Linked DNA regions of Homo sapiens: region 1 is linked to region 2. Evidence: promoter capture Hi-C in human tissues and cell types (Jung and others, 2019). All regions are on one chromosome and are shown on one strand. Each heading gives the region's core, a stretch centred on a gene start or on the middle of the fragment in contact. The rest is flanking DNA. Distances are from core to core; before and after follow the strand shown. Region 1 overlaps SLC9A9 (solute carrier family 9 member A9). Region 2 holds the start of PLS1 (plastin 1).

What was found. Contacts are between HindIII fragments. The study calls those that stand out against the background at their distance.
Region 1: a contact is called between a fragment that was not itself captured here and the fragment with the promoter of PLS1 in region 2, in 1 of the 25 tissues and cell types used here (IMR-90 fibroblasts).

The regions. Positions count from the first base shown.
Region 1 is chr3:143,737,660-143,742,398 of GRCh38, forward strand. All of the region lies in intron 4 of SLC9A9 (solute carrier family 9 member A9), which reads right to left. Among named protein-coding and RNA genes, the nearest start is that of SLC9A9, 110 kb to the right of the region's middle. The HindIII fragment of the contact is 5,662 bases long and covers 1-4,739 here.
Region 2 is chr3:142,594,270-142,598,825 of GRCh38, forward strand. PLS1 (plastin 1) reads left to right here and starts at 2,124. Exons shown (of 16, transcript NM_001145319.2): 1 at 2,124-2,240. It overlaps PLS1-AS1 (PLS1 antisense RNA 1), which reads right to left. Exons shown (of 4, transcript XR_001740938.2): 4 at 1,640-3,028. RefSeq lists an enhancer at 2,180-2,419. The HindIII fragment of the contact is 14,749 bases long and covers 1-4,556 here.

The DNA.
Region 1 (4,739 bases), core at 1,377-3,876, 1.1 Mb after region 2:
ATGTGCTATCCTATACTAATGTTTTATATGCAGCTACAGAAAACATGACCTTCTAGCATTTCTGTTGGTGGTTTACTTAATTTTCTTTTAAATAAGAATTGTGTTATGGTAGAAAATTCAAAAGTATGAGAAAACTATGAAGTAAGACAGAATACCCAGTCTCAGTCACCCCGGCCCGAGATTTTACCATCAGCAACAGCAGCAGCAGCAGCAAGAACGTATACTCTTACTAAATATGTAAGACGTGTTCACATGCTCTGTTAATATTTTACATGCATTCTCTCATTTAATCCCTATAAAAACCCTATGAGAATGTATGATGGATTTTTAATTTTTTACATAGTAACATTTTATTCCATGCTTTTTGGTGCATTTCCCTTTATTACAGGGGTTGGAAGACCAAAAACTACATTTCCTAGACTCTGTTACCACTGATATGCTGCATGCAATTTATATTTTGCCATCTAGTGAGATGCTCTATTGCTAGACTTGGGAGACAGGAAGAAGTCAGAAGCCATTCTTCCTTCTGCAGTAGCAGATATGTGGGCCTTAACAGAAATTACTCTTACAATGGCCTCTGAATTCCCTTCCAGCCACATGCCACAGGGCTTAGGGCAGTACCGGATAGTCACAAGATTTCCTACAGTCCTTTGCCTCTGGATGGGGTCATTAATTCCCTCACTCTCTGGGACACTGATATAAAATCTAGTGGCCACACCTTGACTTCCCCCTCTAGCCGTTACAACGGTTTTGTAACCTCCTAAATATTATTACATCCTTTTCTGTTTGTGATACCTAGAGTGGATATGTTTCCCTAGTGAAACCCTTATTGTTATAGTTAAATAATAATATTATTCCTGGGCTGTTTTTACTCCAGCAACCAATCCTCCAGTTCTCTGAATACCAACCAGGTATCCAACAATTAAATTCAATTCTGGTACTATCTACCTGGAGTTAGTGTCACATTCCACAAGGTAAAGGACCCAGTCCCATAAGACTGCCTCCATTATAGATGCCAGTTCCAAGACCCAGGACACTTGTAGTTCTGACCCACTGTCTAGAAATTGGAAGTCCCCAAGACCCACTTTTCAGATCAAACATTTTCTGCAATAGCTCACAGAATTTAGGAAAGTACGTTACTTACAATGACTTGTTTATTATAAAAGATGCAGCTCAGGACCAGCCAAATGAAAGAGATGCACAGGAGAAGGCATGTGCAGGTATGCAGCTTTCATATCCCCTCTGGATATACCACCTTCCTAGTACACTGATGTGTCCTTCAGACTGAAGCTCTCTGAACCCCATCTTTTAGGAGTTTTTATGGAGTCTCCAAGTCATAGGCTTGATTGGGTAAATCACTGGCCATTGGTGAATGAACTCAATCTCCAGCCTGTCTCTCTCCCCTCTCCTGGGGTTGAGTGGTATAAGGTAAGTGGTGAAGCTGAAAGTTCCAACCCTCTAATCATGCCTTTGTCTTTCTGAAGACCAGTCCCCACCCTGCAGCTCTCGTGGGGCCCAGCGAGTCACCTCATTACTGTAAATGCAAGTATAGATGAAAGGGGATTGTTATGAATAATAATGAGCTTGTCATCACTCCTGTCAATCAGAAATGATTTTGTCATCACTTCTATCACGCAGAAAATGCCAAGGGTTTTAAGAGTTCTGTGCCAGACACCAGGGAAAAGACCAAGTATATATTTCCCGTTATCCCATAACTTCCATATCATAGTGAAGGACACAAAGGGATTAAAAAACTTAATTAAGACCACCTGGCTAGAAAGTGTTAGCGCTGAGGTTTGTGTTACACATGCTAAAAATCTGAGATACTTTTCTATGAAAGAAAAGAATTACAACAAAGATGATGTTGATAATTGTCACTTATTTACAAAGTTAATACATTCTTACTAGTCTTACTTTATTTTATGATCAATAACCACAATAAAAATAAGGAAGTCCAAGGTCTAAATTTCATTTCATTTCATTTCTCCAAAAATTTTATTTGAAGCTTTTGCCTTCAGGCAATGATATTTTCTATAATAACATATTCAGGGTTAATCTGTCCTTTTGTTTCCCTTAAGCCACTGCCTGAACAACTAGACCAGTGGTTCTCAGTGTGCTCTCTATACCCACAGCTTCAGTATCTCCTGGGAATTTGTTAGAAATGAAAACTCTCAGGCCCCACCCCAGACTTACTGAATTTGAAGTTACTTACTGGAAGTAAGCCTCAACCATTTATGCCTCAATGAACCCTTCAAGTTTGTTTGCTTGTTTTTATCACTGTCCACATCCATGTTGAGATATTTTGGTCCTATCCATGTTCTATCCAAGATGCTATTTCTCAGTCGGGTTTCCATATGGTGAGTCAGAGCAAGAGCATTGCCATCAGGACTGTGTTATTGAAGATGCTGACAAAGTCCAACTTCTACTAAGAGATCCTGGATATCTCTAGATTATGCCATTTAAAGAAGCCGCCAACTTGGTGAGAAGTAGCAAAGTTATGGATTAACTGTTGCTTCATGTAGCATAAAACTGTATGAGACTAAAGGAAGGAGAGAAGCATTGCTACTTTAGACAAAAAAATGAGAGAGAGAGATATATATATAGCCAAATTATTGTTTTGAAATGCCAAGAATGTTGGAGGTTAGGGCTCTGAAGCTGAAGTAGGACTTTCAATGAGCAATGCATTAGGTAGCATGTAAATGGATCCTGTGCATAAATTAATTCTGGATTTCCCAAATTACAGCCATTCCTCTGTTACTGTCAATTTTCATTAATATGGCTCAGTTTTAAAATTAAGCATAGTGATATTTGTCCTAATTAATAATGTTTTTGAAATCATAGTTCAGTAGGCTAGTTATATGTTTCTTCTAGTAAAATTAAAATAAATGCATATTTAATAAAATAAGTCCATTAAAAACATCTTCCATACAATTAGTGATATGCTTTGATAAACACAAGATTAATTTATTTAATAAATGATCATACCTCCCCATTGGGAAATTCCAGGAAAGAATGCAGACTGACAAGAGAATCTAACTGTATTATAAATGTATAAAACACCTCATTAAAGGGGATAGGAGAAAAGCTGACCTAAAAGATTTTGGAAATGCAGTCTGTAAGACTAAAGCCAAAGGGAACTACACATTAAGTACTGTACTGTAGTTGATAAAGTAGTTTTCCACAGAGATACAGGTTAAAAATTCTGATACTACTATTCATGTGTATTGGAGTTAAACAATTAAGTAAATGGCTTCTCACGGTTGCAGTGAAAATTTACAGATCAGCAAGGGGAGGAGGCTAGAATGTAGATTAGATTAGAGTTGGAGACATCAGCAAGAACTCATGTTTAACTTAATATAGGTATAGCTGCTTACATATAGAATGATTTATAGATATGTATATATATGCACATTAGTATACACACATATATTTCTTTCCTATGTCATCTGAGAGGGTCTAAAAGAAACCACCCAAGATCCTGGTTTCTAATCTCATTCTCCAGTAAAAGGAATTAAGCTTCTTTGGAGAAATAGCTGTTCCTAACACTGGGTAGGAAATATATAGCATAAGCCTGGAGTATTTTGTAGTATCAGAAAGTAAGAAAGTGACTCTCCCCCCAAAAAATCACCCCATTATGTCAAAGGGGCACAGAAACCAATAGAAGGAAATACCAACGGCCAAAGCTAAAATAGCTAAAATACCTGGAGCAACAAAATAAATAATATTGGATTATTAATCAAAATATAAAACAAACATCCACAAGTCCACACTGATATAAATAAAGAATTGTATAAATTAATAAATGGATGGTAAGAGACAAATCTCTTTATGCAGAAGATGTTTCTTAAATGCAGATACTCCAGAAGGTTAAGTAGGGGAATGTAACTTGTCACTTTGTAAGTGTGGGTTATGCATAATGACTTCCTTACAAAGAGTACACTATGGAAAGAGGGAAAAATCGTAACTCTACAGTGGAGAAACCTGACAAACACTACCTCAGCCAAGTGATCAAGGTCAACATCAATAGTCATAAATTATGCTGACAGTATGTAGTCTTTGATATGATGTGATGAAAATGGCACTTTACGTCGGTGATCTTCCCCCTAACCCATTGAAACCACCTTTGCAAAATTATGACTGAGACAGTGAAAGAGATCTAACTTAACTGACTCCATCTTTCTTCTAACCTCCAAGCTGCCCTTGTTCATTCCTGGGCGTAGGCTGAGTTAACTTTGGGAGAAACTTAGCTTATAGTTTATAGTTTAAACAAAGATGGTAACAGCCCTTTCTCAAAGCAGACCTCCTTCTTGCCTGGAGACTAGATTGCCTTTGTAGGACTAACATTAGCCACAAGATTAGAAATTATGGTTTAGGAGTCAAGCAGCTAGAGGCTACAAGATTCTGACCCTCCTTAAACTGCTCTTAAGATCAGTGCTGGAGATATTTTGCAGACCCTGCACTTGATGGATCAGCTGGCACCACCCAGATCAATAAACTGGCTCATCTGATCTTGGGGCCCTACCCAGGAACTGACTCAGCTCAAGAAGACAGTTCGAACTCCCTAGGATTTAATCTCTGACCAATCAGCACACCTGGCTCACTGGCTTCCCCCAACCCACCAAGTTATCCTTAAAAAACTCTGTTCCTCCAATGCTCAGGGAGACTGATCTGAGTAATAATAAAACTCCGGTCTCCCACACAGCCGGCTCTGCGTGAATTACTCTTTCTCTACTGCAATT
Region 2 (4,556 bases), core at 874-3,373:
TACAGGCGCTTGCCACCACGACCGGCTAATTTTTGTATTTTTAGAAGAGACGGGGTTTCATCATGTTGCTCAGGCTGGTCTTGAACTCCTGACCTTAGGTGATCTGCCCACTTTGGCCTGCCAACGTGCTGGGATTACAGGCGTGAGCTACTGCACTGGGCCCTGGTTGTGCATTTCTAATGATATACTCTAGTTATTATTTTACACTTGGAAACAATTTTGGGAAACGGTTTTATCAATGGTATATTTACAAATCATATCTTAGGGTTGGCTGCTTTTACAGAGGGTTGTTACAGACATTTTATATGCATTATTTTTAGCTTCATTTACAGAGGATGACTTTTTATTTTACCTTTCCCAAATCAGGTTATACCATATTTAGAATCTACGTTTCCTCATGAACCTGCCCTGGTCAATATTACCACGAAAAAAAAACAGATCATAAGAGTATTTCATGAAAAAGTGTTCTCTTATCAAACTTATTGGTGAATAATTTACACACATTTTTCATGTTTAAAGTGTACAACTTAGCGATGACAGTTGTATACACCTGTGAACTTGTCACTACCATCAAAACAGAGAAAATTTCCATCGTCCCCCTCCAAAAATATTTTTTCTGCTCATTTGCAGTTTATCCTTCCCTCCACTCCTGGCTCCAGGCAATTACTAATCTGGGTTTTGTCATTATAGGTTAGTTTGTACTTCATATAAGTGGGATTATACAATATGTTTTGTCTCTAGCTTCTTCAACTCAGCATACCGATTTTGAGAGTTATCCATATTGAGTCCTGTGTGAGAGTATTTCTTCTTTTTTATTGTTGAGTAGTATTGCATTGTATAAATATACCACAATTTGTTTTTTCATTTACATGTTGTTGGACAGTTGGGTTCCTTCTGGTTTGGGGCTTTTGTGAAAAACAGCTGCTATGAGCATTCCTGTTCAAGTTTTTGTGTAAGCATATGTTTTAATTTCTCTTGGATAACATCTAGGAATGAAATGGCTGGGTCATATGTTAGATGTATGTTTACCTTTTAAGGAAATATTTTGCTTTATTTTGTGAGAACTTACTTAACTCCCCTTGCATATCTAGATAAATAAGTATCAGATAAGGATACTAAATTTACCAGATTCTCTAGGTGGCAGGTGGGAAAAATCAGATAAGAATACTAAATTCACCTGATTCTCTAGGTGGCAGGTGGGAAAAATTCCTTATCTTCCCTCTCCATGGCCCACCTACTTTCATAGTTCATTGCTCGTCCAATTTGTTTGAGTTCTTAAAATAATTTCAACTTCCCCCCTTTATTTTTTCTATTGTTACCATCTCAGGGTTGGTTGGGTGCCTATTCTGTATTGGATATTGTGTTAGGCGCAGAAGGGGCACGTGGGACTTTGAGTTAAAGGGGCAGCAAAACCTTGTTCTGTTCTCTGGACTGAGTTGGACAGACCACAACTACGGATTATGCTTCAGGCAAAGTATGTGAGAACTCTTGAGGCAGCATTCCATTTACCTGACTCACATGCGAGAGAAAATATCCCACTTTTGTTTGAGTGTGGGCTTTAGTTATATATTTATTTTAATCAGGTGTGGCTGTTAAAGGAAAAGGAAGCAATCCGTGAAACAAACGGAAAAAAAAAGAGTAGGGGAGAGAAACAAGTCTTCCTTTAATAACGTATACCTTTCCTTTTGACCAGCAGGTCCCAAAGTGTGGTACCCAGACTAGTAGCACCAGTTTTCGCTGAGAACATGTTAGAAATGGGAACTGTCGCGCTACGCTCCAGACCTAACTGAATCGGAAACTCAGTTTCCGGGTTTGGGATCTGTGATTTAAAAAGCTCTCCAGGTGATTCTGATCCACGCTCAAGTTTGAGAACTGCTGTGCTAAACTCATTCCCAGGGTGTAGGTGGTCATCTTTAGACTTGGGTAACTGTGGGCGGTAGAGATAACGTTGCCGCAGCGCCCGTCCACCTCTCCCCATCCACGCTCCCAGCGCCTGCAACTCCTCTTTCACCCTTAGCCTAAACCCAGGTTCTGGGCTTCCCTTTCCCTCCCCTGGGAGCCGCAGGCAAAACGCGGCAAGTGGATTCAGAGTTTGCGGGCCCGGGTGCCGGCCGAGCATGCGCAGTGGCGCGAGCGCAGCGGCTACGCGGGCGCGGAGAGGTAGCCGCAGAGTGGACCTGCAGGTACTTGGATCTCCAGTGGGAGCTGCCCTCTCGAAGGCAGGACAGCGGTGGCGGCAGGTACGCGGGGGTGGGGATAGGGCCCAAAAGGAAGGCTGGACAGACAGATGGAAAGCGAAGCGTTACTCCTTTGGGGGCGCGCGGCGGCTCGGGGGCAGTATCTCCGGGTCCCCTCGCTCGCGTCTCGTCTCCTGGCTGTGCAGTGTGGCGCCCGCCGTCCTCTGGGCACGCTTCTGCCCAGTCCCGGCAGGCAGTGCCCGCAGGTGTTAAATCGCGTATTTACACTGCTTAAACAATAAGCCTGTTAACTGAATTGTGATTCTATGCAATGAAATAAGGTATTTCATTAAGTTTTCTTCTTTCAACTTTGGGTGGCTGCCGGTGAGGCTTTCTGAACCAGCCTGTTTTGTTTTAATTCTGGGACTGGTTTATTTGCCTTTGGCCTTTTGGTGCATAGGATCAATAGGGCTGTAGTGAAATCCCATCCGTGCTGTTTTTGGTACCTTTCCTGGAGCATAGGGACCTCTGGATGCGGCATAAAAATGTCAGTTTTCAGCGAATTTCACTGCCAAAAAACTTTCCGTGTTTCAGCTGCATTTTCAAGTGGAGACTTAAAAAAATTTAAGATTTCTCCCTAACTTTTCAATTATTACTGTATTTCGGTCTTCATTTGGTACTATTAAAAGGAAGCGGTCGTTTAGATGAGTAACAGAATTCTCACTTTTCCTCCTTTACTTACTTACTATGTCACATTTTATGGCTTATACCGTGATATCTTTCCCTCCAGCCACGGTGTTGGATACACTTGTATGAGGCTTCAGCTGTGCTGCATAAATTTCTTGAAGAACCTGTGAGCCAGAAGCAAAATTTCAGGACAGGGGGCACACACTGAACTTGAAGCAAGTACTTTTACACCCCCCACCACCTTTGTAATCAGCTTTCCTTTAAGTTGAATTATGTAATGAAATTCTATAGTAAAGTGTTAATGTGTAATGTGGAGGCATATATATATATAGAGAGAGAGGTAGTAAGTTTAGGAAGAGGAAATTTTAAGTTCAGGAAGAGAAACCTATATGGAAAGGGAATACAGGTATCCTGCCCCCCTTCATTCCTCCCATGATAAATGTTTTAATGGCAGAAATAATATACAGCTGGTCTAGTTTTGGCTGTAGAGACCTTTGAGGTCAGCCAGTTCAGCTGCTTCAGTTTACAAATGAGAAAACTGAGACCAGCGAGGTTAGATGACTTGCTGTGGCCACCCAAGCCCCTCATTGGCAAAGCTAGGCCTGGGATCCAGGTTTTCTCATTTTCTGGGGTCTTTTTACCACTCCCTGCAGATACTCTTCTTTACCTCCATTATTAAACTTCCTTTTTCTCTTCTACTTATACCATGAAGTCTGGCTTAAGCAGAAAATTAGTTGTTTCTCTTACTAAGCTTCCTAGTACCTCATAAATTCCTTTCAAAAAGTGCCCTTTCACTGAAGCCCCACCTAACAATTTGCTGGTCCTGAAAACGCCCTCCTTCCTTCCCTCAGTCACCTGGGCCCTTTGCCCAAAATGCCTGTTTGCCTCCCTCTTTCCGTATTGAAGTCCTGCTCATGCTGCAAGGTGTAGCTCAGGTGTGACCTCTTTTTGGAAGCCTTCCTTGATTGCCTTAGCATGAAGTAGCTCTCCCTCTTCTGAACCCTATAGCACTTACTACTGTTGTTTGTGCTGTTAGTATCCCCATTGTATATAGTATCCTGAGTATTTTAGCACCTCCCAACTTCCCGACCAGGAAGTTGGCAGGTTGTGTAAGCTCTTGGAGGTTAAAGCCTATGACTTAAACATCCCACCCAGCACTAAGCACAAAGTATATTCTTAGCCCCTGTTTGTGGGAGGGAGTGGGGGAAGGAAGTGCAGTATGTATAGTTTTGTAAAGAGATTTCATGTGTGTTCTATAATATGGGGAAGGCCATGTTAGAGCTGTATCAAGACAGCAGCCAAGTCCATTTCTGATTCCTCATATTTTGATAACAGATCACAGATTAGTTAGGGGGATTACAGGAGACAGGCGTAAAAACACGGGTCAGTTGGTCCAGGCCCTGGATTAAGCCTGTGACTCAAAGTGGAGAAAAGAGGGCACAGAATTAAGAAATGTAAAGGAAGAAGCATGTGGTGAAAGACTAAATGCAGAGAAGGAAAGACATGTTGAAAATGAATTTCAGGGTTGGGGTGTTAGTAATGGGTTTATAATGTTCTTTTTATCTTAAAAGTACCTCCAATTGGCTGGGTGTGGTGGCTCACGCCTGTAATCCCAGCACTTTGGGAGGCCGAGGTGGGTGGATCACAAGGTCAGGAGATTGAGACCATCCTGGCTAACACGGTGAAACCCCA